Linked DNA regions of Homo sapiens: region 1 is linked to region 2. Evidence: promoter capture Hi-C in human tissues and cell types (Jung and others, 2019). All regions are on one chromosome and are shown on one strand. The core of a region is centred on a gene start or on the middle of the fragment in contact, and the rest is flanking DNA. Distances in the headings are between cores, read along the strand shown.

What was found. Contacts are between HindIII fragments. The study calls those that stand out against the background at their distance.
Region 1: the fragment with the promoter of TRIM72 here is called in contact with the fragment with the promoter of TGFB1I1 in region 2 in 1 of the 25 tissues and cell types used here (lymphoblastoid cells).

Annotation. Positions count from the first base shown.
Region 1 is chr16:31,212,425-31,216,508 of GRCh38, reverse strand. It overlaps TRIM72 (tripartite motif containing 72), which reads right to left and starts at 2,390. Exons shown (of 7, transcript NM_001008274.4): 1 at 2,212-2,390; 2 at 1,381-1,777. The coding sequence starts at 1,770. PYDC1 (pyrin domain containing 1) reads left to right here. Exons shown (of 2, transcript NM_152901.4): 2 at 352-547. RefSeq lists enhancers at 1-153, 1,069-1,983, 1,984-2,899. The HindIII fragment of the contact is 10,428 bases long and covers 1-4,084 here.
Region 2 is chr16:31,469,723-31,473,711 of GRCh38, reverse strand. TGFB1I1 (transforming growth factor beta 1 induced transcript 1) reads right to left here and starts at 1,560. Exons shown (of 11, transcript NM_001042454.3): 1 at 1,511-1,560; 2 at 156-271; 3 at 1-30. The coding sequence starts at 1,523. RefSeq lists an enhancer at 681-1,221. The HindIII fragment of the contact is 11,590 bases long and covers 1-3,989 here.

The DNA.
Region 1 (4,084 bases), core at 1,141-3,640, 260 kb after region 2:
GGTTCTGTGCTTTCTTCGCAGATAAAGACGGGCAAGGTTGGGCGAGGTTGGGTTTTTTTTGTTTGTTTGTTTTTTGTTTTTTTTTTAGCGGCAGCAAGATTTATTGCAAAGAGCAAAAGAACAAAGCTTCCACAGCATGGAAGGGGATCCGAGCGGGTTGCCCTGAGGTTGGGGTCTTAAGCACAGGTGTGCTGGGATGGGAGGGGTCCCGGGAGGAGGCTCCTGCCCTGAGCTAGGAGACCACCAGCTAGGACTGGGCTGAACTGGGCCAGGCAGGACTGAGAGGCTGGGTCCCTGGGAAGTCTGGGGGCCTCGAATACCAACGAAAGGACGGTGGTCTACCCCTTCTAGGAGGCGGGTCAAGGCAAAAGGAGTAATGCAACGCCTGTGAAGCCAGCCCCACGCGCGCACCAGTCGCGTAAGACAACAGCAGTGTCTCCACCTCGGGGACCAAGGACGCCTCCGTGCCTCCAGACCCCGCCTCCTCCAGCCCCTGCACCTGTCATTTATTCTTCCACTGCCCAATAAATATTCATGGCAGACTTTACTGGGGCTGCGCGCACACGTGCCCGCCGGTAGCTATACGTGTGTGCTTTTGCCACACGGATGACACGCACCAGCCAGTGTGCGTTCGTCTCTATTTGCCTCTGTCTGGGTGTCTCTGCTGGGTACTTCGGGACGCGCACAACTGCGTGTGGGCTCCCAAGGCTTTCGGGACTTCCAGCTCCACCCAGAAAAACATCCTGGACGGGGCTCTCGGTGCCACCCTGGGCCCGCACACATAAGTGCAGATCCCGGCTGCCTAGCCCTTACAGTCTCCCTTCTGGTGAGGCCCCGCCTGGGGACCGTCAGGCCAGCCCAAGTTCCGCAGCTTCAGGGGTGCGTGGGCCTCCGCTGAGCACAAGGGGACAACCCTGCCCCGGCCGCCTGGCTCGGTCCCGAACGCCGCGCCTCCAGTCCAAAGTGGGCCAGCGCCGAGCAGGGAGCCAGCCCGAACGGCCCACCGGGTGCAGGAATGCGAGCGTGGGCCGCAGGGGCTGGTCAGTCCCTGCTCCGCCTGGCTCCGCCCGGCCCATCAGACCCGCCCTGGGGCTCCGCCCGCCCATCTCCAGTTTCCTCTAGGGACTAAGGCCGGGAAACCTACGTTTGCTCAGCGCCCTTATCGCCAGGCTCCATCCCTGCGCGGCTTTCCTCTGCCAGCCCCGCCTTAAGCTCCTCAGACCCTCTTTCCTGGCTGCTTCGCCCCGCCCCCGCCCCCCGCAACTCCAGGAGCTCGTGAGCCTCTCTAGAGACTCAGAATCCAAATCACTGCAGCGACCTCCCCATCGGCCCCGTGCCACCGAACAGCCCCTCCGACCACGATGCGCGCGGATCCCGCACCTTGAGGCGTGCGTGGGCCTCGGCGGCAGGCAGGAGGCGATGACCGCGGTGCGAGCCGAGTGAGGCGCACACTCCGCACACCAGCGCGCGGTCCTGCTCGCAGTAGATGCTCAGCGGGTCCAGGTGCTCCTCGCAGTGGCCCTGCGGCACCTGGGCCAGCCCCTCCACCAGGCGCGCCAGCTGCAGGTTGGTGCTGAGTGCCTGCGGCCGCGTGGGGGCCTGGCAGCAGGGGCAGAGAACGGTGCCATCCGCCGCCGGCTCCCCGGCCACGCGGCCTAGGCAGGCGCGGCAGAAACTGTGGCCGCACTCGGCTGTCACGGGCGCGTCGAACAGCTGCAGGCACAGCGGGCAGGACAGCTCCTGGTGCAGGAGGCCGGGCGCAGCCGACATGGCGGGCCTGGGTGGAGGAGGAGTAGGTTAGGGGGACCCCGCGGCGCCGCGCTCCCGGCCCAGCCCTGGCCCAGCCCTAGCCCAGGCCGGGCCCGCCGCCCCGCAGGGAGAAGCCCCAGCCTGTAAAGACCTCACATCCTACACTGGATGGGACTCTGACGGCCAAGGGGAAAGAGGAACTCGGTCTCAGGCCCAAAAGCAGCCTCCACTGCAATTCTCAGCTCCAACCCCAAAAATATGCCCTATCAGTCAACCCCAGTTCCTGAACACAAGCCCAGATTCTAGCCCACTGTCCTTGCCCTCGCCTTAGCCCCAGGCCTCAGCCTCTGACCTTAGTCCCGGACCCAAATTCTCCAGAGCCCCCACTCCGAGACTCCCCTCCCTCACTTTACCAAGATACCCAGACCTCCCCTCCCCCTCTCTCCAGCCCACGGGACTCACAGGTCTGGTTGGAGATCTTAGGCTGAAAGAGTCTCGAAGGAGGACCGGTCAGGGTTGAGCTTAGCTGGACTGGGGTCAGGGCTGGGTCCAAGGATCTGAGACAAGCAGCAGGCTCCAAGCAAGGACAGGGACTCACAGGGGCAGCTGGCAGTGGACACCACGCGTGATGGGCACACAGTGCTCAGCGGAAGACCCTCCCAGACTGAGCCATGGCCCCAGGACTATATTTAGCTGCCCTGCCCAATCCCTCCCATCACTTCCGGAAACCGTTCTAAAAGTGAGGGCTGAGTAGTCCCTGGGCACACATCACATGACAGGGCCACCTGTCTTGGCCCATCCACTGTTCTCTCCCCGGCCTGCCTGGAGTCAGAGCTCAGAGCCAGCGGGGAGCCAGGGCCTTTCACACCACAGAAAAGACAGAAAATTGAAGGGGGTCTGCCCTTTCTCCCCCCACTCCCACCTCCACACTCTCCAGCTCCTTCCTCCTTGCTGGCAGCCCCTCCCCAGCCTGTCACCCACTCATTCCCCAAGTTTATGGCTGACCAAGGTCACCCTGGCAGGATTACCCCACCTGCAGGAGGGCAGGACCTCACCCCACCCTGAAATGTTTTCTTCCTCCAGAGCTGAGGGGAGGGTCTTTTCCACTTTGGTCTCTCTAGTACACCCAGGACAAGCCTGGGACAAAGTAGGCCTCTCTAAATGCTTGGAGAATGAATGATAGAGAGACATTGAACAAATGAATGAACTGAATCCAGAGCCTGCAGCCCAGAACTCAATTCTGCCCTGGTTCCTGTATGTGTATCTTTCAAATCTCAGCTGAAATTTCATTTAAGTGGCGCTGGGATAACTGGCTAGCCTTATGCAAGAGAATGAAACTGGACCCCTACCTTTCACCATATAAAAAAAATTAACTCAAGATGGGTTAAAGATTTAAATGTAAGACTTCAAACCATAAAAATCATAGAAGAAACCGCAGGAGAAATACTATTCTGGATATCAGCCTTGGTAAAGAATTCTTGACTAAGTCCTCAAAAGCAACAAAAACAAAAATTGTTAAGTGGGACCTCATTAAACTAAAGAGCTTCTGCACAGCAAAAGCAAAAGCAACTATCAACAGACAGACAACTGAAGAATGGAAGAAAGGCCAGGCGCGGTGGCTCACGCCTGTAATCCCAGCACTCTTGGGAGGCCAAGGCGGGTGGATCATGAGGTCAGGAGATCGAGACCACAGTGAAACCCCGTCTCTACTAAAAATACAAAAAATTAGCCGGGCGCAGTGGCGGGCACCTGTAATCCCAGCTACTCAGGAGGCTGAGGCAGGAGAATGGTGTGAACCCGGGAGACGGAGCTTGCAGTGAGCCGAGATCGCGCCACTGCACTCCAGCCTGGGGTACAGAGTGAGACTCCGTCTCAAAAAAAAAGAATGGAAGAAAATATTCACAAACTATGCATCCAACAAAGATCTACTATCCAGAATATATAAAGAAACTAAACATTTCAACAAGCAGAAAACAACCCCATTAAAAAGTTGGCAAGGGCCAGGCACAATGGCTCACACCTGTAATCCCAGCACTTTGGGGGGCCCAGGCGGGTGGATCACTTGAGGTCAGGAGTTTGAGACCAGCCTGGCCAACATGGTTAAACTTCGTCTCTATGAAACATACAAAACTCAGCCGGGTGTGGTGGCAGGTACCTGTAATCCCAGCTACTTGGGAGGCTGAGGCAGGAGAATCGCTTGAACCCGGGAGGCAGAGGTTGCAGTGAACCGAGATCGCACCACTGGACTCCAGCCTGGGTGACAAGAGCGAAACTCCAACTCAAAAAAAATAGCTGGGCATGGTGAAGAACACCTGTAGTCCCAGCTGCTCGGGAG
Region 2 (3,989 bases), core at 311-2,810:
CGAGGCTCCTGAAGACTCCCCAGACCCTGTCTACAGAGCGGAGACGCACAGGTGGGATGACAGGCCTGCACTCTGCCCCACTGAGGCTGAGATCCCCATAGACCAGGCCGAGCCTGGCCCTAGTGGCTGCCCCAGTCCCCAACATCCGATCTCACCTGTGGCTGGTGGCCATAGGATGGGGGAGGGGTGAGAGGCTCCGCAGGGCGCTCTTTGGGAGCCCCTGACCTTGGCATGTGCGAGGTGGTAGTCTCCAGGTCAGAGAGCAGGGCATCTGCAGGAAGAGGCCATCAGGGAGAGAGACAAGGGTCACGGTTAGATCAGAAGATAAGGTTCCCAGTGGGCAGTACTGGAGAAGGACAGAAGCCAGTATTAAGAGAAGAGGTCACAGGGCCAGAGCCAGGCAGAGCACTGCTCGAAGGGTAGCAAGGAATATTTATGACCAGAATATCCCAGTTGCTCACGCTTGGAGCCAAGCACAAACCCAGCCTCCTGATTATTTTATTCTCCCCATCTTCTCTGATGCAGTCAAAATGGGCTCTTCACCCAAGCCAAATTTGGCTCCCCTCCAAATTGCTCCATTGGCCCAGTGCCTGGCCCTCAGCTTTCTGATTGGACGCTCTCTCTTCCATGCTGGTTAACTCCTCCCTCTACCTACACAGGCCCCGCCCAGCCTGGCCACTCCCAGGCCCCTGAGTCCCGCCCTGGGCTCCTCACTGGCGCTTCGCTGGGACCTGCCTTCTGATTGGCTGTTTATCTGCGGTACAGCGTCAGTTACCCCTACCGAGCAGCGCCCTCTACCGCCAGGGGCCGGAAGCCCCTCTCTCCCGTGGAGCGCACAGCCTTCCAGCCCCAGGCTTCGCAGGGAGGACGAGATACCTGGGTCCCCCTTCCGGACAAGACACCTCTCTCCATCCCTGCATCCCCAGATCCGGGTCTTTTGAGCCCTTTCACTTCCAGAACCCAGAAGTCCTGCCCTCAGTCTTCGTCTCTGAGCACCCGCGTGAAACCCTGAAGCCTTCGCGGGCGCCTAGGCACTCCTGAGTTACTATTCTCTTCCTTGCCTCAAGGACCTGACCCTCACTGTGCTCAGGAGCCCTTAACTCCTCCTCTCCCAAAACTCTGGTGCAGGCAGGCCCGCTTTTTTTCTCCAAAACTTGATGCCAGACTTTCCCGTGCCCTCTACTTTCCCGGTCCCCGGGCCGAGGCCCCTTTAACCCCTCCCTCCCCAGAGCCCCGCGCCCGGGCGCCCGCGGGCGCCGCACCTCCCGTTCCATCTGCCGCAGCCTGGGATGGAGGAGCACAGCGAGGGAAGAAGGGAGGGAGCGGCCGGCCCAGGAAAGGCAGGAAGGGAGAGGCAGGAAGGGGGACGTGGAGTTGGAAAGGAGGCGCGGGCAGAGGCGAAAAGCAGAAGTAAGAAGACAGGGATGGGGAGATGCGGGAGAGCGACGGCGGGGAGGCAGCTCTGGGCAGCGGTGAGGGGCCACGGACCCGGGGATCCGGCCCCACTCACCCAGGTCCTCCATGGCGGGGCGCGGGCCGGTGGCGCGGGGCGAACAGGGCGGGGGCCGTGTCCGGTGGGGGCGGGGGGCGGGGGACGTCCGGGAGCTGGAAGCCCGGCCGTGACCATGTAAGGAAGCCGGGACCCGCTGAGATGGGGATGGGGGGGCGATGAACGGGGGAACCCGAGGTGGGGGCGTGGAAAGGAGGGAGCGCCCCGGCCCACCCGAGCCCAGCCCGCCGGCCTGCCGCGGAGGCGGCCACACCCCAGCCTTGGCCTCAGCTGCAGGGAGCCCCAGGAGGCCAGAGCCAGAGAGAAGTGGCTTCTCCAGACCAAGCCCCAGAGCCGCTCCCTAGGGAGACTTACAGACACGGACTGAGGCCCCCAAACAGACACCGCTCAAAGCTAGCGCCTGAGTCCTAGACAAGAGCCTCCCTCCCACCCATGCCATTCCTGGGAGACTTGTCCCAGACGGAATTTTTGGATTGGTAGCAGGAGTGATATTCTAAGGCTCAATTAGACCTCAGGTTCGGAGACCCTCCCATCGGAGACCCTGACAGATAAATAGAGGCCCCAAGAGGCATACATACCAGACACAAAGAAATCTGAGGGACGGGGACAGACACAGTGAACCCACCCACAGACTCTACACTAGGACCTTCCCTCCAAGACTTGGTCATGGACACACGTAAACTCGAACCCGGGCGCAAGCCCCTTGCAAATTCGGGGAAAACACTCCCAGGCAACCAACCCCCAGCCAGCCTGCAAGACAAAGCCCTTCCTCAGCACTGAGGTGGCCCAGGCCTGCTCTGAAACAGCCCTTTCCCAAGTTACTGATGAACTCAGAGCAGAAAGCAAGACACAGTCTCCAGCCACAAAGTGGCAAGGCCTTCCCTGGACTGAGACCCTGAGAAACGAGGTGGAAACGAGAGGCCATAGAGGTAGTTATGGACAGACAACTGTGCTGCAGCCACTCTTCTGGACAGATCTGAGCACTGGAATGTGAGTATCAACCCAGCAGCAAATCGGAACAACCTGGGGAGCTTTTTAAAAATGCGAGACAGGCATGGTGGCTCACACCTATAATCCTAGCACTTTGGGAGGTCAAGGCGGGCAGGTCACTTGAGGTCAGGAGTTCGAGACCAGCCTGGCCAACATGACAAAACCCCATCTCTACTAAAAACACAAAATTAGCTGTGCGTGGTGGTGGGAGCCTGTAATTCCAGCTACTTGGGAGGCTGAGACAGGAGAATTGCTTGAAACCTGGAGGCAGAGGCTGCAGTGAGCTGAGATTGTGCCACTGAACTCCTGAGCAACAGAGGAGACCCTGTGTCAAGAATAAAAAAGAAAAAGAAGAAAAAATGGGCAAACGACCTGAATAGACAGTTCAAAGAAGTTATATAAATAGCCAATGATTACATGAAAAGATCCTCAACATCATTAGTCCCCAGAGAAATGCAAATCAAAACTACAATGAGATGCCACATCATACCTATTAGGATGGCAATAACAAAAAAGACAGGTAATTAGGCAAGGAGCAGTGGCTCACACCTGTAATCCTAACACTTTGGAAGGCCGAGGTGGGTGGATCCCCTGAGGTCAGGAGTTCGAGACCAGCCTGGCTAACATGGTGAAAACAGTCTCTACTAAAAACACACAAAAAAATTAGCCAGACATGGTGGTGGGCACCTGTAGTCCCAGCTACTTGGGAGGCTGAGGCGGAAGAATCCCTTGAACCTGGCAGGTGGAGGCTGCAGTGAGCTGAGATCGTGCCACTGCACTCCAGCCTGAGCAACAGAGCGAGACTCCATCTCAAATAATAATGATAATATTTTAAAGGCCAGGCTCAGTGGTTCACGCCTGTAATCCCAACACTCTGGGAGGCCGAGGCGGGCGGATCACCTGAGGTCTGGAGTTGGAGACCAGCCTGGTTAACTTGGCAAAACCCCGTCTCTACTAAAAATACAAAAATTAGCTGGGTGTGGTGGCAGGCACCTGTAATCCCAGCTACTCGGGAGGCTGAGGCAGGAGAATCACTTGAACTCGGGAGGCAGAGGTTGCAGTGAGCAGAGATTGTGCCACTGCACTCCAGCCTGGTGACAGAGTGAGATTCCGACTCAAAAAAAAAAAAAAAAAAAGCTGAAAAGAAAGAGGTAATTAGCAAGTTTTTGTGAGGATATGGAGAGATTGGAACCCTCACACATGGCTGGTTGGAATGTAAAATCGTTCACTAACTTTGGAAAATGGTCTGGCAGTTCCTCACATGTTTAAACATAGAGTTATATGATCCAGCAATTTCCCTTCTAGATATGTAACCAAGAGAAATAAAAGCATATTCCACAAAAAAACTTGTACATGAGTATTCATAGCAGCATTATTCATAATAGCCCGAGTGGAAACAACCCAAATGTCCGTCAACTGATGATTGAAGAAATGAAAGTGGCATATCCATGTCTTAGTCTGTTTTGTGCTGCATCGTAGAATGCCTAAG